3 separate regions of the Homo sapiens genome follow, and regions 1 and 3 are each linked to region 2. Evidence: promoter capture Hi-C in 16 types of primary human blood cells and fetal thymus (Javierre and others, 2016). All regions are on one chromosome and are shown on one strand. The core of a region is centred on a gene start or on the middle of the fragment in contact, and the rest is flanking DNA. Distances in the headings are between cores, read along the strand shown.

Region 1 (4,901 bases), core at 886-3,385, 110 kb before region 2:
CCAAATGTTGCTATATGAGAGACAGAAAAGATTCATCATTTCCTGATGAACTGTTATTGCTGTTAGGGCATTTTAAAATGCTTGTTTTTAAAGTAAATGTGTATATACCATGGGCCCATCTTACAGAACTGACTACTTTAAACAGATAACATTTTTACTCCCAACAGAACATTATCAAAAAGAGAACACAACAGTTCCTTTTGTTAAAATAAAAATAACTTCTGTACTTAAAGAACACTTAAACATGATCTTCCACTTTTGACAAAGGATGGATTAACAGGAACCAACTTAACCCTCACACCTTAAATGGTAAATAAATAAATAAAATGACAGAGCCAGGCATGCTGATAGTGTCTGTAGTCCCAGCTACTTAGGAGGCTGAAGCAGGAGGACTGTTTGAGCACGGGAGGTCGAGGGTGTACTCTTCTATAACTGCATTTGTGAATAGCCACTGCACTCTAGCCCCTGAGAAACACAGTGAGACCCCCATCTCTTAAAAAAAAGATAAAACATACGAAGCCATGGTTTCAGACACTGGACAAAAGACAGTACTGGACAGTGATCTCTGAGAAAGAGAGGACAAATGAAATGAGCCCTATATTCCTCCAGCTAACTTCCTGGAAATAATTTCCAGAGCACTAGGAGGGTCCAAATATAATCCCAGCAGACTCCTGGAGTTGAGGAGACAGAGTTGAGAATTCAGGGAGGCCAAGGCAGCTAGAATTGGCAGAGGGAGAGTATCAGAGAGGAGGGACCTTCACAGAGAAAGAACTTTAGAAAGCTGCAGAAAGTCCCTTTGAGTCTTTAGGTGAGTATTGAAACAGTTTATGTGTGTGAGGAAACTAGTCGGTATTCTGGGAAAAATAATTACCTGAAACGATCAAGTGAACGAATCCTCGATTATCACAAAGGACAAGGACTAGTTTATGTCTCCAACAACAAAAATTTTAAAAATTCTAAAATAAATGAGGCAAAACGCCTAAGAAGTGGCAAATAATTCTCCTGGTTTTGCCTAACAAAGCTTAACAGGCTTCAAAAGAAACAAACTATCTCCAAGAAACTGTGTCACAGAACAAAACTCGAGTATGTAAATGAATATAAAAATAGCTAGCACTCAACAAGGTAAACTCTACAATGTCTAGCATCCAATAAAAAATTACTAGGCACACAAAAGGCAGGAAAATACAAACCATGAGGCAAAAAATTCTACAACAGAAACAGACCCAGGACAAAAAATATAGAATTAGCAGATAAGAACATTGAAAGTTATTTTAACTATATTCCATACATTTAAGAAGGCAGAAAAAAAGAGCATGTTAAGAACAGAGATGGAAGATGATACGAAAGACCTAAATTGATCTTTTAGAGATGAAAAAAAGATATGAAAAATACACGGGATGGGATCAAGAGCAGATTAAACATTATAGAGGAAAAAATGTGTTACCTTGAAGAAAAAGGGTAAGAAAAATATCCTAAATGAAACAGAAAAAATATGGGGGAGGAAGAGAATTAAGCATCAATCAATTGTAGGAAAACTCCAAGCATCCAAATATATGTGCAAATGGAGTCCCCAAAGAAGAATGGGAGATATAAAATATATTTGAAGAAATAATGGACAAAATTTTCCCAAATTTGGTAAAAACTATCAATCTACAGACAGATTCAAGGGGTTCAATGAAACCCATGAGCAAGAAACATGAAGAAAAGTATACCAAGGCACAATATAATCAAATTGCTTAAAGCTAGTGATAAAAACTTTCAGGCAGCCGGAGAAAAACTCATGTTACATAGAGAAAAACAAAAGAATGATAGGAGACTTTTCCATCTAAAATACAAGCCAGAAGACATTAACATCTTTCAAGTACATAAAGAAAAATACCTACAACTCCATACCTAAGAAACAAGACATCTTTCAAATATGAAGCTGAAATAAAGATTTTTTTCAGCCACACAAAAACTGACATCATCAACAGCAGACATGCACTATAGGAAATAATAAAGCAAACCATTCCAGCAAAAGGAAAATTACACCAGATGAGAATCTGGATCTATACAGAAGAATAAAGGACATCAGAAACAATTAATATGGGGCCAGGCACAGTGGCTCACGCCTGTAATCTTATCACTTTGAGAGGCCGAGGCGGATGGATCACTTGAGCTCAGGAGTTCAAGATCAGCCTGGGCAATATAGTAAAACCTTGCCTCTAAAAAAAAATACAAAAATTAGCTGGGCATGGTGGCGTGCACCTGCAGTCCCAGCTACTTAAGGGGCTGAGGCAGGAAGACTGCTTGAACCTGGGAGGTCAAAGCTGCAGTGACCTGAGATGGCACCACTGCACCCCAGTCTGGAAGACAAAGCAAGACCCTGTCTCCAGAAAAAGAAAGAAAGAAAAAAAAAAGGTTAATATGGGATAAATAAAAAATTTCTTATTTTTCAAATCTTTAAGATAACTGCTTAAATAAAAATACGTACTAAGAAATAAATGGATAAATATATATTGTGGGGTTCACAACATATGTAGAAGTATAATGTATGACTATAATAGCACAAAGGCAGGAAAAGGGTAAAGTATACTGTTATAAAGCTCTTACGCTGTGTGTGAAGAGATACATATTACTTGAAGTTAGACTGTGGAAAGGTAAAAATGCATATTAATTATAAACTCTAAAGCAATCATTATTTAAAAAGAAACACACATACACCAAAGACATATAACTACTAAGCCAGTACACCACCTAAGTAATCTAAAAGAAGGCAGAAAAAGAGAATAAAGGGAACAAGGAAGAGATGGGACAACAAATGAGAAACAACAAGATAAAGAGATTTAAACACAACCATATCAGTAACTACATTAACTGCAAATGGTCTAAATAGCCCAACTAAAGGCAGAGACTGTCAAATTGGATTACAAACAACACCTAACCATGAACATAATTATACACTGCAGCTTATTCTGTCTACAATTCATAGCAAAATACCTTATTAATTATAAATCAGAGCTGTAAAAGCCACTCAGCCACTCTCATCTGGCCTCAGTTTTCTCCTTTATAAGACTGTTAAGCTAGCATAACCTTGAAGCACCTTTATAAAGGCTGTAGAATTCTATGACTATGACCAAACTGTTTCATCAGTCTCATACTTGTTAATCTTAAAGATAAACAATAAAATTGATTCTGGCCCATAAAAAGCAAAGGGCAGTGGGAAAAAACTCCTACAGCTGTGACTGTCAAACATAATTATGTTCAAGACAAGCTTGTGGCACTTACCTAAAATGCAGATACCTAGATCCCACACTCAGATACTGATTATGTTAGTCTGGAGTAAGGCTCAGGAGCATTTATTTTTAAATGAATAACCCCACTAATTTAAATGCAGACTGTTATACAACCATACTTAAGAAGCCTACTCCTAGAAGGTAACAAAATCATATTCTGCTTCAAATGTTTTGCTATCACTCTATCATGATTGATAATCACTTCCATACAAAGGGAGTGTTCCACTCTGGTACAGACACTGGTGACAAATGTTCACTTCTATTTCCCAAAAAAAAAAAAAAAAAAAAAAATTACAATCCTAGGAGTAATCTCTGAAACACACTAGAAGGTATAGCTAGAAAGATAATGGAGAAACTAAAATTGAGTACTAAAAAATATTCAGCTAACCCAAAATAAAGTCTGGAAAGGAGTAACAGAGGAAAAAACCATAAGTCAAACAGAAAATAAATAGCAGAATCACAGACCTAAATGCAACTAGATCAATAATTACATTAAATATAAATGGACTAAAATATTTCATTTAAAAGGCAAAGATTATCAGACTATCAGAAATATAGTCTGACTACCAGAGATACATTTTTAAAGACAAAATTTCAACCATTAGGTTGAAAATAGTTTTTTAAAAAGATATAACACAAAATAGTAAGCATAAGAAAGCTGGAGGCCGGGTGTGGTGGCTCACGCCAATAATCCCAGCACTTTGGGAGGCTGAGGTAGGTGGATTGCTGGAGCTCAGGAGTTTGAGATGAGACCAGCCTGGGCAACATGGTGAAACCCCATCTCTATAAAAGATACAAAAATATTAGCTGGGGGTGGTGGTGCACACCTGTGATCCCTGCTACTTGGGAGCCTGAGGTGGGGGGATCACTTGAGTACGGGAGGCAGACATTTCAGTAAGCTGATATAGCTCCACTGCACTCCAGCCTGGGTGACAGAGTGAGAATGTCTCAAAAAAAGAAAAAAGAAAAAAAGCTGGAGTGGCTATATTATTATGAGACAAAATAGATCAAAGACAAGGAGTATTACTAGAAATGGAGACATTAGTACTTCAAGACTCTTGAATTCTTATGTAGCTCTGCATAACTAAAGTTTACAGATTCTTGAACACTGTAATAGCAGCAATAGCCCTATACTGTTCCATGGCTTTTAAAATCCAGCCTCTTTCACTGATGAAGTAAAAAAACCATACATCACCTTTTAATGTTATCTGAATTTTTTAAATGACCAAAAAGCATGCAATACAGTGTTCAAACCAGGTTGTTATTGTTACTGTTGTTTTTTTTTTTGGGGAAAAAAAAAAAAGCATATACTGGCCGGGAACGGTGGCTCATGCCTGTAATCCCAGCACTGTGGGAGGCTGAGGCAGGTAGATCACTTAGAGGTTAGGAGTTCGAGACCAGCCTGGCCAACATGGTAAAACCCCTTCTCTACTAAAAATACAAAGAAATTAGTCAGGCATGGTGGTACGTGCCTGAAATTCCAGCTACTTGGGAGGCTGAATCACAAGAATCACTTGAACCTGGGAAGTAGAGGTTGCAGTGAGCCAAGATGGCACTGCTGCACTCCAGCCTGGGTGACAGAGTGAGACTCTGTCTCCAAAATAAATAAATAATTTTTTTAAAAAG
Region 2 (4,654 bases), core at 1,813-4,312:
AAAGAGAAGGAAAGAAGGAAGGAAAGAAGGAAGGAAGGAGTTGTTACATAAATGAGAAATACTAAAAGGCTGTTTAACTGATATTGCAGACACTATAGTTCCATAAAAAAGATAAATTATGAAAAACAAGGTTTGTAAACATTTTTATCTTTCCTTAATTGGCCCTTGAGCAGACCAGATGACTCAGTACTGGTCTCCAGGGATCAGCCTGCACTCCAGGGCGTTGTGACACATTTATATTGCTTATCCTATTTAACATTTTGAGTCATATTATTTTCACAGAACCTTATTTACTATAAACGTCTCTATAAATCTACATAGTATACACATTTCATTTAATATCTAAGTAACATATACTATTGTACACCATCAAATATACCCAGTAACGACACCCTAGCTTGCTTAATCATTCCTCAAGTGTTAAGAGGTTTGAGTTACAATTAACGCAACAATCCTCCCTTTACCTCCATGGATGTAATTTTTTTGTTGTTGTTTCTCTAACCCATTTATTTGTTTTTTTTGTCTGCATATGTGTTTATATTCAAACAGGCAGCTTTGTTTACTTTTCGTCTTTGTATGTTATTGTTCAAAAAAGGATTTCCTGAATCAAAAAACATGATCAGTTTTATGACCATTACTGGCTTTTTCTGTTGGAGACTTTATAGCAGCAGAGAAGTTGAGGTCTGAATTAGCACAATGACCATTTACGTTACAAAATTCTTATAAGAAAAACTTGCATGTTCTATTTCTTAATTTGATAAATTGTCAGTTATGTACCATTGAATTTTTACCCCTGCTGAAGTTACACCAGAACTACATATTTGCAGAAAATTCCAGAGAAGTCAGGATGGGCCCTTAGTACAGTAATCATAGAGTGTAACAATAGAGAACATGGCACTTTTTTAAAAAGTCGAGAGCTGCCTCTGACGTGTCACTCTTAAAATATGTCTCCCAGCAGTCATCTTCCTGCCTTCCAGGGCTAGAGCTTTGTAGGTTACCTTAGGGTGATCATGGGGACCTGGTTTTCATGAGGCCATGTTTAAGCTCAGGGGTGACCTGGCTGGGAAGAGGGTATAAACCCATGAACACGAGTCAGTTGACAGACTAGGATTGCCACTTTGTAAAGAAGAGCCCAAGACCTGATCAGAATGAGACACAAATGAGGTCATTTTTAACAGAACTAGGGGAGGGGAGAAGGACAAATAGACTGGGGCGATTCTCAGGGAGGGAAGGGCTGGATACGAGACTCTTTTGGGAGAGCCTAGAAACGACGCAAGCGTCCCAGACACCCGGGCTAGTGGAGAAGAGAGCAGAATGAGAGCAGTCATGAAAAAGAGTAAGGGAACACAAGAGAAATTCGGTTTGCCTATTTCTGTCTGGGCACAGTTCTGCCCTTAGCAATCTAAGGCAACTTCACAAAGCTCCACTCACTGCACGGGATGTAGAACACAGTGGAGGCTTCCACCCTGGTTTGACTGGCTTTTGGGAATCAAGCTGGAAAGCCAAAAGGACATGTTTCACTGTGGAGGTGCCCTCAGGGCTGGCGAAGGCCTTGGGGGAGGTGTCTTTGCAACTGTGTAGGGGTGGTTTTCTGATTAGCAAATCTGAGGGCAGGGAGATATTGTGATCAGGACTGTTTGATTCTGGGGAAGCCTCTTTTTACCCTGCCCACATAGAAGACTCTGCTTTGGATACAGAGTCAAGGACGGATACTGATACAATGGACCTGTAACTTGTCCATGGCTGCCTTTTGTACAGTTTAGTCCATTTGAGTAATCTCTACAAGCCTGCACCTCGAGGGCAAACTTCCTGCTCTTCTGGGGAATTTAATTGTGAATTGTCTGTTTCGGGGCCCATTTTGACTCCTGTATTCCAGGACTTATCTCTTTGGAGGCCTTGATTTGGAATTTCCCATTGGATGGGGCTACTTGGGTACTGGGTAGCTTCAACCTGGCTTCCGTAAGAACAAAGCCAGATGATCACGGTGGGTGGTCTGCTAGGAGAATGGAAATGCCATTGATTAAAATTGGAAGGTTAAGAGAGAGGCCTGAGAGTTTGGGATAGGAGATGAAGTTTCAAAAAATCAGTTTTTAAAAAAACATTTCCCATCTGAAATGCCAGTGAATTGTTCAGATAGATTACATTGAAAAGGCTGACATTTCTGTAGCAGCAACGAATGAAGTCATCCGAGTGGATGAGGTGCTCTAGGCCATACATGGAGAAGAGAACACAGTTACCCAAGCCTCCCCGACTGTGTGCGGCCACAGACTCTGCTCATTTCCCAGTTAGGAACGATGCAGGGGTCTGCTGGGATCTCCACGTTTCTACCTGTACCTCTGAGGACTGGGTTTCTGCCCACACGAGTTGCAGGATTTGCTCTACTGAGAAAAAGACTTTTGCTCCAGAAAGCAAGTTTCCCGTTTCAGACACGGACAGCGAGTTTTGCTTCTAGAATCATTTTCAGCTGCATACAGAAAAATGAACTTGGCTGAGCTGAAGAGCCACACATATGTTAAACGGAAGCTCGGGTATTAGGAACGTCGAGAAAGGCAGGCCGAAAAGTTAGCCCCCTTCTCCTCACCCCTGTCCTCACAGCGGCCCCTTCAGTGGCCTGACTTTTTCTGCGTGGGACCCAGAATGTCGCTTGAGGATGGGACCCCCGCAGACCTCCACGCGCTGCCACGCAAACGGCCTCGGCCGAGAGCATTCGCTTTCCAGATGAGAATGGCATCTTCAGGGACCCGCTGGTAGTGGGGCCAGGTCTCCACAGGGCCGGTCCAGTCCTTCCTACCCACCCGGGCCCTGCGGCCAGGCGGGGCCGGGAGGGGCGGATGCCGGAGGGCGCTGGGGGAGGCCGACCCGCGCGGGGCTGGTCCGAGGGCGGAGGCAATCCGCCGGCGACGCCGCAGGTCCCGGGTGGCTGACGCCGTCCGGGGGCGTTCCTGGGAGCTGGGGGCCGGCGAGGCTGGACCCGACGCGCCCGGGAGGAGCCGGCCGGCGGCCACGTGACCCACCGCGGCGGGGCCGGCGGCCCAGAAATAGCAGCGGCGGCGGTTCCGCCCGCGGGCGGCGCGAGCGAGGGGCAGAGGCGAGAGACGCCGGCGGGGCGCGGGCGCGGCGGCCCCGGAGGATGCTGCTGAGCCCCGGCACTGCCTGGCTGCGAGCACATGATGGCGATACGGGAGCTCAAAGTGTGCCTTCTCGGGGTGAGTCCTGGCCGCCACCCGCCGGCGGACCCCGGCCCGCGCTCTCGCGCCCCTTCGCTCCCCTATTCCCTGCGCGCTCAGTCCCCGTGATCCCCTCGCTCTCCGCACCCCTCTCGTAGCCCCCGTCCCCCTCGTCCGCGCGCCCCCTGGTTCCCCGGGTCCCCCTGGCTCCCCTAGTCCGTGCGCCCCTCGCTCTCCGCGCCCCTCGCTCTCCGCACCCCGCCTGTTCTCCGCCTCCCCGCCGTCCGTGCGCCCCTCTGGTCCGCCCCCGCTCTCACCCTGCCGGGGTCCGGGTCCGAGCCTGCCCCGGGCTTACTCCGCTCTTTCCTCCCGGCCCGCGAGTCCCCGGATCCGCGGCGACCTCGCGGGGACCCCCAGCGGGGACGGGGCAGTGGCGGCGAGTCTGGGGCCCCGAGGGCTTTCTCCTCCGCTTTTGATAGTTTCCTTCCGGCAGAAAGTTTAAGTTGCTCAGCCAAGTCGCTGAGTGCTCTTTTGCCTCCTGGGGGCAATTGATTTACTCACGTAAAACAGAAAAATAAAACCAAAAGCGAACCCAGCCAAGGGGGTGAAAGCCGAGGGCGCGGCCGGGGTGGAAGGTGAGGCAGTGACCTGTGCGGAGCGCGCCCTGCAAACTTCCCTGCTGCGGGTGAAAGAAGCTGCCTGGGAAAGTCCTCCCCACCATCACTCCCCTAAAGTGGGGTTTTCTCCGCCCGAAGAAGCCTTAAAGCAGCCAGAAACAAAAAAGCAGTCAATCCGTGCGGCCCGGGGACTGCAGACAGGGGACCCGGCGAGGACGCAGGGAGCCGCTGGCGAACCGCCCCTGGGAATTCAGATAAACGTAGGGTCGCTTCCTTTCGGGGGCCCACTCCGCATTCCAGAATTCCTTCTTCTAAAAGAAGAGCCGGTTCTAAGGGCGTTTTCAGCAGCCATTAGCATCTGGTGTACCCGCCCGTGTCATTGGCAAAGCTGGTCTCATGAAAACCATTTCCTAAAAAAGGGCAGCGAAAGGGTCGCATTCTTGTGCGAACTGATCTGTCAAGATGGGGGTACAAGAACTGTAGAAAGAGGAAATGATTTCGGTGAGGACTGAATTGTGCCAGCGTCTCTAGGCTTCCTCTAGGCTCTTGTGGAACCTCCGGCAGGCTCCCATCATCGGCTCCCATCACCGGCCTCTTCCAAAACCATCCCTTACGCTAACTCGATTGTCCGGTTGGCTTAGAATTCCAGAGGATCTGGGAAGGCCCTGCCCTCCCTGCTAGCCCCTGGCACAGATCCGCACAGATCCCCACCTCCCCCGACTTGCTCAGCCACAGCCAGGATCTAGTCTGGTCTTTCTCTGTTGACCTTTTTGTGTGGCAGGAGTGGGTTTTCCTGTTCCCCAGGCCCTCTAATATTTCCAGACATAAATTCCAGGAATCCCATGCTTCCCTCTTGAGGGGCCATTTCAG
Region 3 (4,955 bases), core at 633-3,132, 120 kb after region 2:
ACTGTGGTGCATCCATACCATGGACTACTACTCAGCACTAAAAGGAGGCAAACTGCTGATACACACAGCTCGAAATGCATCTTCAGGGGAATTGTGCCGAGTGAATGAAGCCAGTCCCAAAGGTTTCACATTGCATGGTTCCATTTATATAACATTTTAGAAATAGAGGATAGATTACTGATTGCCAGGGCCTATCATAAGGGGAAGTAGGGGTGGGGGACGGGGAGGAAAGTGGGCATGGGTTTGAAAGAGCAACATAAGGGACCCTGTGGTGTCGGCACTGCTTGGTATCTTCTCTGTGGTGGTGGACACAGGAACCTACACAGGTGGTAAAATTGTATACAGCTTAACTCACATACATAAGTGCATACAAGTAAAACTGGAGAAATCTGAATAAGATAGAATGCATCAATGACAATGTCCTCTTTGTGATATTATACCATAGTTTTTCAAGATGTGACCATTTAGGGAAACTGGGCGAAGTGTATGAGAAATCGCTTGGTACTGTTTCTTACAACTGCATGTAAACGAATCTACGGTTATCTCAGTAAAAAATCTGATTAACAAAAAGTTGATTTAGATAAAAATAATAAATATTGGAACAGTCAGGTGAGGGTATGTGTGATACATATGCATTATATATATTATATACACATGGCAAAAATTACAAAGGGGGATGTATTTGACAAAAATTTTGTAAACACACTGGGCCAAATGATTAAATTAACCATCTCCAGCACACCTAAGGTACAAAAGATAAACAGGGTAACTGTATTAAAAATTCCCATTTAGGAAAGAGGGAAGGGGAAGACTGCTGCCTGGGTCTCTGCCCAGAATGTCTGTCTCCTGTGAGACAGGAATAGTCGGTAAGTGATAGGGCCTGGGAACCTAGTGGGCACCGGCTTGTTGACACGTTTCTATGGTGGGGGAATCGGTTCTTGGTCAGCAATCTGGCTGCTCCAGATTCTGCCTGCTGATATAACTTTTCTGGGGAGTTAGCCAAACCTCTAAACCCCAGACCTTATTCAGAGCTTGACCTTCTTTTACTCTAATCCCAAAGTACTTTGCTCTCCTGTAATTCCCAGAAAACTGTATTTGATTTTTAACTGAGGGTTGTAGCAGGACAGTATGTAGATATGTGTGTGTAGATATGTGTGGATGTAGATGTGTTTGTATGTGTGTGTGTATGTGTGTGTGTAGATGTATGTGTGTATGAGTGTGTGTGTAGATGTGTATGTAGATGTGTGTGTATGTGTGTGTAGATGTGTATGTGTGTGTAGATGTATGTGTGTATAAATGTGTGTGTAGATGTGTGTATAGGTGTGTGTGTGTAGATGTGTATGTGTGTGTGTAGATGTATGTGTATATGAGTGTGTGTAGATGTGTGTGTATGAGTGTGTGTGTAGATGTGTGTGTGTAGGTGTGTGTGTGTTGGTGGAACTGATCTCATCCAACACACTTTGGTTGTGTAAGCTTGTCAATTCTTGGAAGGAGCTCTGCCTGGCCTATTTTGAGAATTTGCTGGATGGAAATGGAATTCGCCCTCCAACCTTGGCTCAGCCCACTTAAGGCATTTGAGTGCAGAAGTACTTGGCAGAGATGCCTGTTCAGTGTGTTTCATCTTCTTGCATGTTCCAGAAGATGGTATAAAGGTCCGCCCCACTCCCAGAGTGGAAGGCATTCAGAGGCATCCGGTCAGGTACACTCAGGATTTTTAGCTTGGATTTTTTTCTAGGTTCCTGATCTTGGTGAGAGATTTTCCTATCTTGAACAACCCTAAACAAAATCTCCCCTGCTCAAATTATTGTGAAACTGAAGTAATGTATGGTCCCTCTGAATTTGAGGCATGAAAGCAAAGTGGAATGTGAGAAGACTGTCCTGGACTTGCACAGAGTAGGTGCTCAGGGGTGTAACCCCCCGTCCTTCCTGCCGCTCTTCTCCCTCCCCATGAATGTTCTGGTCACAGCTCCCAGGGGTGGAGAGTGTGCAGTTCCTGGTGGGGCAGGCCATTCTGTTCTCTCCACCATCTGCTGATGCTGGAGTTAGGCTTGCACAGTTGGGGACATTTAAGGGATTGTCAGAGTTGCAAGAAAATAAGAACCTCAAATGGATTGAATCCACAGGATCTGGGGTACCAGCTGACTTGCCTGGTCAAGATGGCAGGAGAACCTAGTCTGTGTGCGAGCTGGGGCTGGCAGCAAGTTTCTGAACAAGTAGCACATGGCATGGGGCTAATTCAAGGTCTGTGCTATTCTAGGACAGCAGATTGGCCTAGGGTCTAAATAGAAAAGAAAGCTTTGTCTCAGAAAGTCTGGAGAGCCCTACAGGACGCTGCATGTCCTTTTCCTGGGTCTGGTGGGAAAAACAGGGCAGTTGAGTCTTGCAAAGAAAAAAAGAGAAATAGGTTGTAACCTTGCCTCAGTGGTTTTAAAAGTTTCATGAATTCAAGAAACCATAGTGCACTTGTTAAAAATTCCAGTTCTAGGAACCAGGTCCAGAGATTTTGATTCAATAGGAAGAGGCAGGCAAGGGTATGTGCATTTTAAAAAGTGATCCTTTTACAAGTGGTCCAAGGGTCATTCTCGGAAAAGCATTGCTTTCGTCAGTAGGAGTTTATGGTAGAGAAGAATGAGGAAGTCCCAGAATCTATCCTGGCATCTGTACAGGTCTCTAACTGCAGGCTGCACTGTCTGGGCTTCTCTCTTGCCCTTCAGGCTTCCTGGAGAATGAAAACAATGACTCATCATCTTTCAGGATTCAAAAGTGTCACCCATTATCCTAAGCAAATTAATCCAGGAACAGAAAATCAAATACTGCATGTTCTTACTTATAAGGGGAAGTAAGCATTGGGCACTCACGGACATAAAGATGGAAACAGACACTGGGAGCTTCAGAGGCAGGAAGGAGTGGGGGACAGTTGCAAAACTTCCTCTTGTGCTCAGTACGTGGGTGACAGAATCAATTGTACCCCAAACCTCAGTGTCACCCCGCATACCCATGTAACAAACCTGCACACGTACCCCTCTGAATCTAAAATAAAAGTTGAAATTATTGGCTGGTCAGGGTGGCTCACACCTGTAATCCCAACATGTTGGGAGGCTGAGGTGGGCAGCTTACCTGAGGTTGGGAGTTCAAGACCAGCCTGGCCAACATGATGAAACCCCCCTCTACTAAAAATACAAAAATTAGCCAGGTGTGGTGGCACACGCCTGTAATCCCAGCTACTTGGGAGGCTGACACATGAGAATTGCTTGAACCCAGGAGGCAGAGGTTGCAGTGAGCTGAGATCGCACCACTGCATTCCAGCCTGGGTGACAGAGCGAGACATTGTCTCAAAATACAAACAAACAAACAAACAAAAAAGTTGAAATTATTTAAAAAAACACACACACAAAACACAAAAGTGACACCATTGGCCCTTCATCTTTAATCTCTTCCAAAGCATTTCCAGGGCCTCTCTGCCCCCTTTCACACCCCACATTCATAATCACCAGGAGAAGAGATGTGATTGGGTTCAAATTAATATGAGGCTACCCTATTTAGCTTGGATCTTTTTCTAGGTTCCTGATCTTGGTGAAAGATTTTCCTATTTTGAACAACCCTAAACAAATTCTTCCTCTGCTCAAATTATTGTGAAACTGAAGTAATGTATGATCCCTCTTCTGGATGGTTCGACTCCCTTATATCCAGCCTGTGCTTGGTTGCCTTTGGCTTGGGTAAGGGGTTAAGGGTACCTGGCTTTGGGACCTCTGTGAGAGGACCTGCAGGTATTTCAGGAACCATTTGCTTTAGGGCCATGTGGCCAGGATCCTCCGCGAAGGAGGGAAGGTCAGAGGAAGAAGAGCATATCCTATCCCACCCTGGCCCTTAAGCAAGAATCACTCCCTCACACTTCCTCTGACAAGCATGGGCAGCCTTGACCTATAGCTGCCATAATAAGTCATTCCTTGGGAGAAATTACTCCAACCCCATACATTCCGCATAGCAGGTTCTAGTTCTACATTTCTTCTGCTTGATCTTGTTTTCCTGATTTTGAATTCTTGGCTCTACACAAATCCCCTTTGACTCTTCCCAATTTGAAACTCTTTCAGGCTTTCCTGGTCATTTTTGGACATTGGCCTTCATTTCATGGCTTCTAATGGAACTGCTTTTCAAGCTCAGGGGTCTCCTGTTGGCATTTCCTTGAAATTCCACCTCTCACTGGTGTATTTAGGGCCACGAATGAATCAGAAGGATGAGGGAGGGATCAGGAAGTGCCGATGGGAGAAGACCCCTCAGACCTAGTTTATTTTATCTTACAAGTGGTAGCAGTGGGAAGTTACCCAACAACAGTGACGATGGGGGCTGGGTTGGGAAGTGGGAGAACTTTCTTCTCAGAGGTGGTGGGTAATGACCTTGAGATGGCTCTGCTGTCACTGGCTGCCTCTGCCTAAGATTCCTCCTACCCTCCCCATGAATACAACCCAGGAGATGCTCAGGGGCTGTTCTCATGCACTCTCGCCTCTTCTGAGGGATGGAATCATGGTCTCTTAACATCTTACGGAAGCACTCTGGTGCCTCTTACAGAAACATTGGGAGGGATGGGTGGGACTGCTGCCAGGGAGTCCAGAATTCCTTCCTGGAGTAGAGGTCATACACCAAGACAAAGGGCATCTAGTGTTAGAAGTGAAAATAGGGTAGGGTAGGAGGAAGGAAATTAGTCCTATCAGCTCTCAGTCATTTGATTAGCAAATACGTTTTGACGGTCCTTTTGTGGCAGCAAAGTGCTGTGAGAATAGAAAAGAGACTGTCTTTTCCTTTGAGCTATTAATGTTTACTTCTATTTGGGCAGCCAAGAAAGGGGGTGGGGAAGTATCTGATGAGCAATGTAAGACTGTATTTAATGAAGTTCCAGTTGGTCTGATGCAGTCCAGAAAGGACAGAGGGGTTCAGGAAGGGGAGAGGTCAGAATCATC

Evidence for each region. Contacts are between HindIII fragments. The CHiCAGO score rates a contact against its expected background, and 5 or more counts as called.
Region 1: a fragment that was not itself captured here is called in contact with the fragment with the promoter of RAB31 in region 2 in 1 of 17 cell types (neutrophils); the score reaches 6.3 in neutrophils.
Region 3: a fragment that was not itself captured here is called in contact with the fragment with the promoter of RAB31 in region 2 in 1 of 17 cell types (monocytes); the score reaches 5.5 in monocytes.

What each region holds. Positions count from the first base shown.
Region 1 is chr18:9,596,654-9,601,554 of GRCh38, forward strand. All of the region lies in intron 2 of PPP4R1 (protein phosphatase 4 regulatory subunit 1), which reads right to left. Among named protein-coding and RNA genes, the nearest start is that of PPP4R1, 15 kb to the right of the region's middle. The HindIII fragment of the contact is 2,232 bases long and covers 1,020-3,251 here.
Region 2 is chr18:9,705,239-9,709,892 of GRCh38, forward strand. RAB31 (RAB31, member RAS oncogene family) reads left to right here and starts at 3,063. Exons shown (of 7, transcript NM_006868.4): 1 at 3,063-3,206. The coding sequence starts at 3,168. It overlaps LOC124904244 (a long non-coding RNA gene), which reads right to left and starts at 2,734. Exons shown (of 2, transcript XR_007066281.1): 1 at 1-2,734. LOC105371981 (a long non-coding RNA gene) reads left to right here and starts at 3,434. Exons shown (of 2, transcript XR_935131.2): 1 at 3,434-4,654. RefSeq lists silencers at 2,758-3,327, 3,428-3,657. The HindIII fragment of the contact is 11,750 bases long and covers 1-4,654 here.
Region 3 is chr18:9,823,042-9,827,996 of GRCh38, forward strand. All of the region lies in intron 5 of RAB31 (RAB31, member RAS oncogene family), which reads left to right. Among named protein-coding and RNA genes, the nearest start is that of TXNDC2, 60 kb to the right of the region's middle. The HindIII fragment of the contact is 822 bases long and covers 1,472-2,293 here.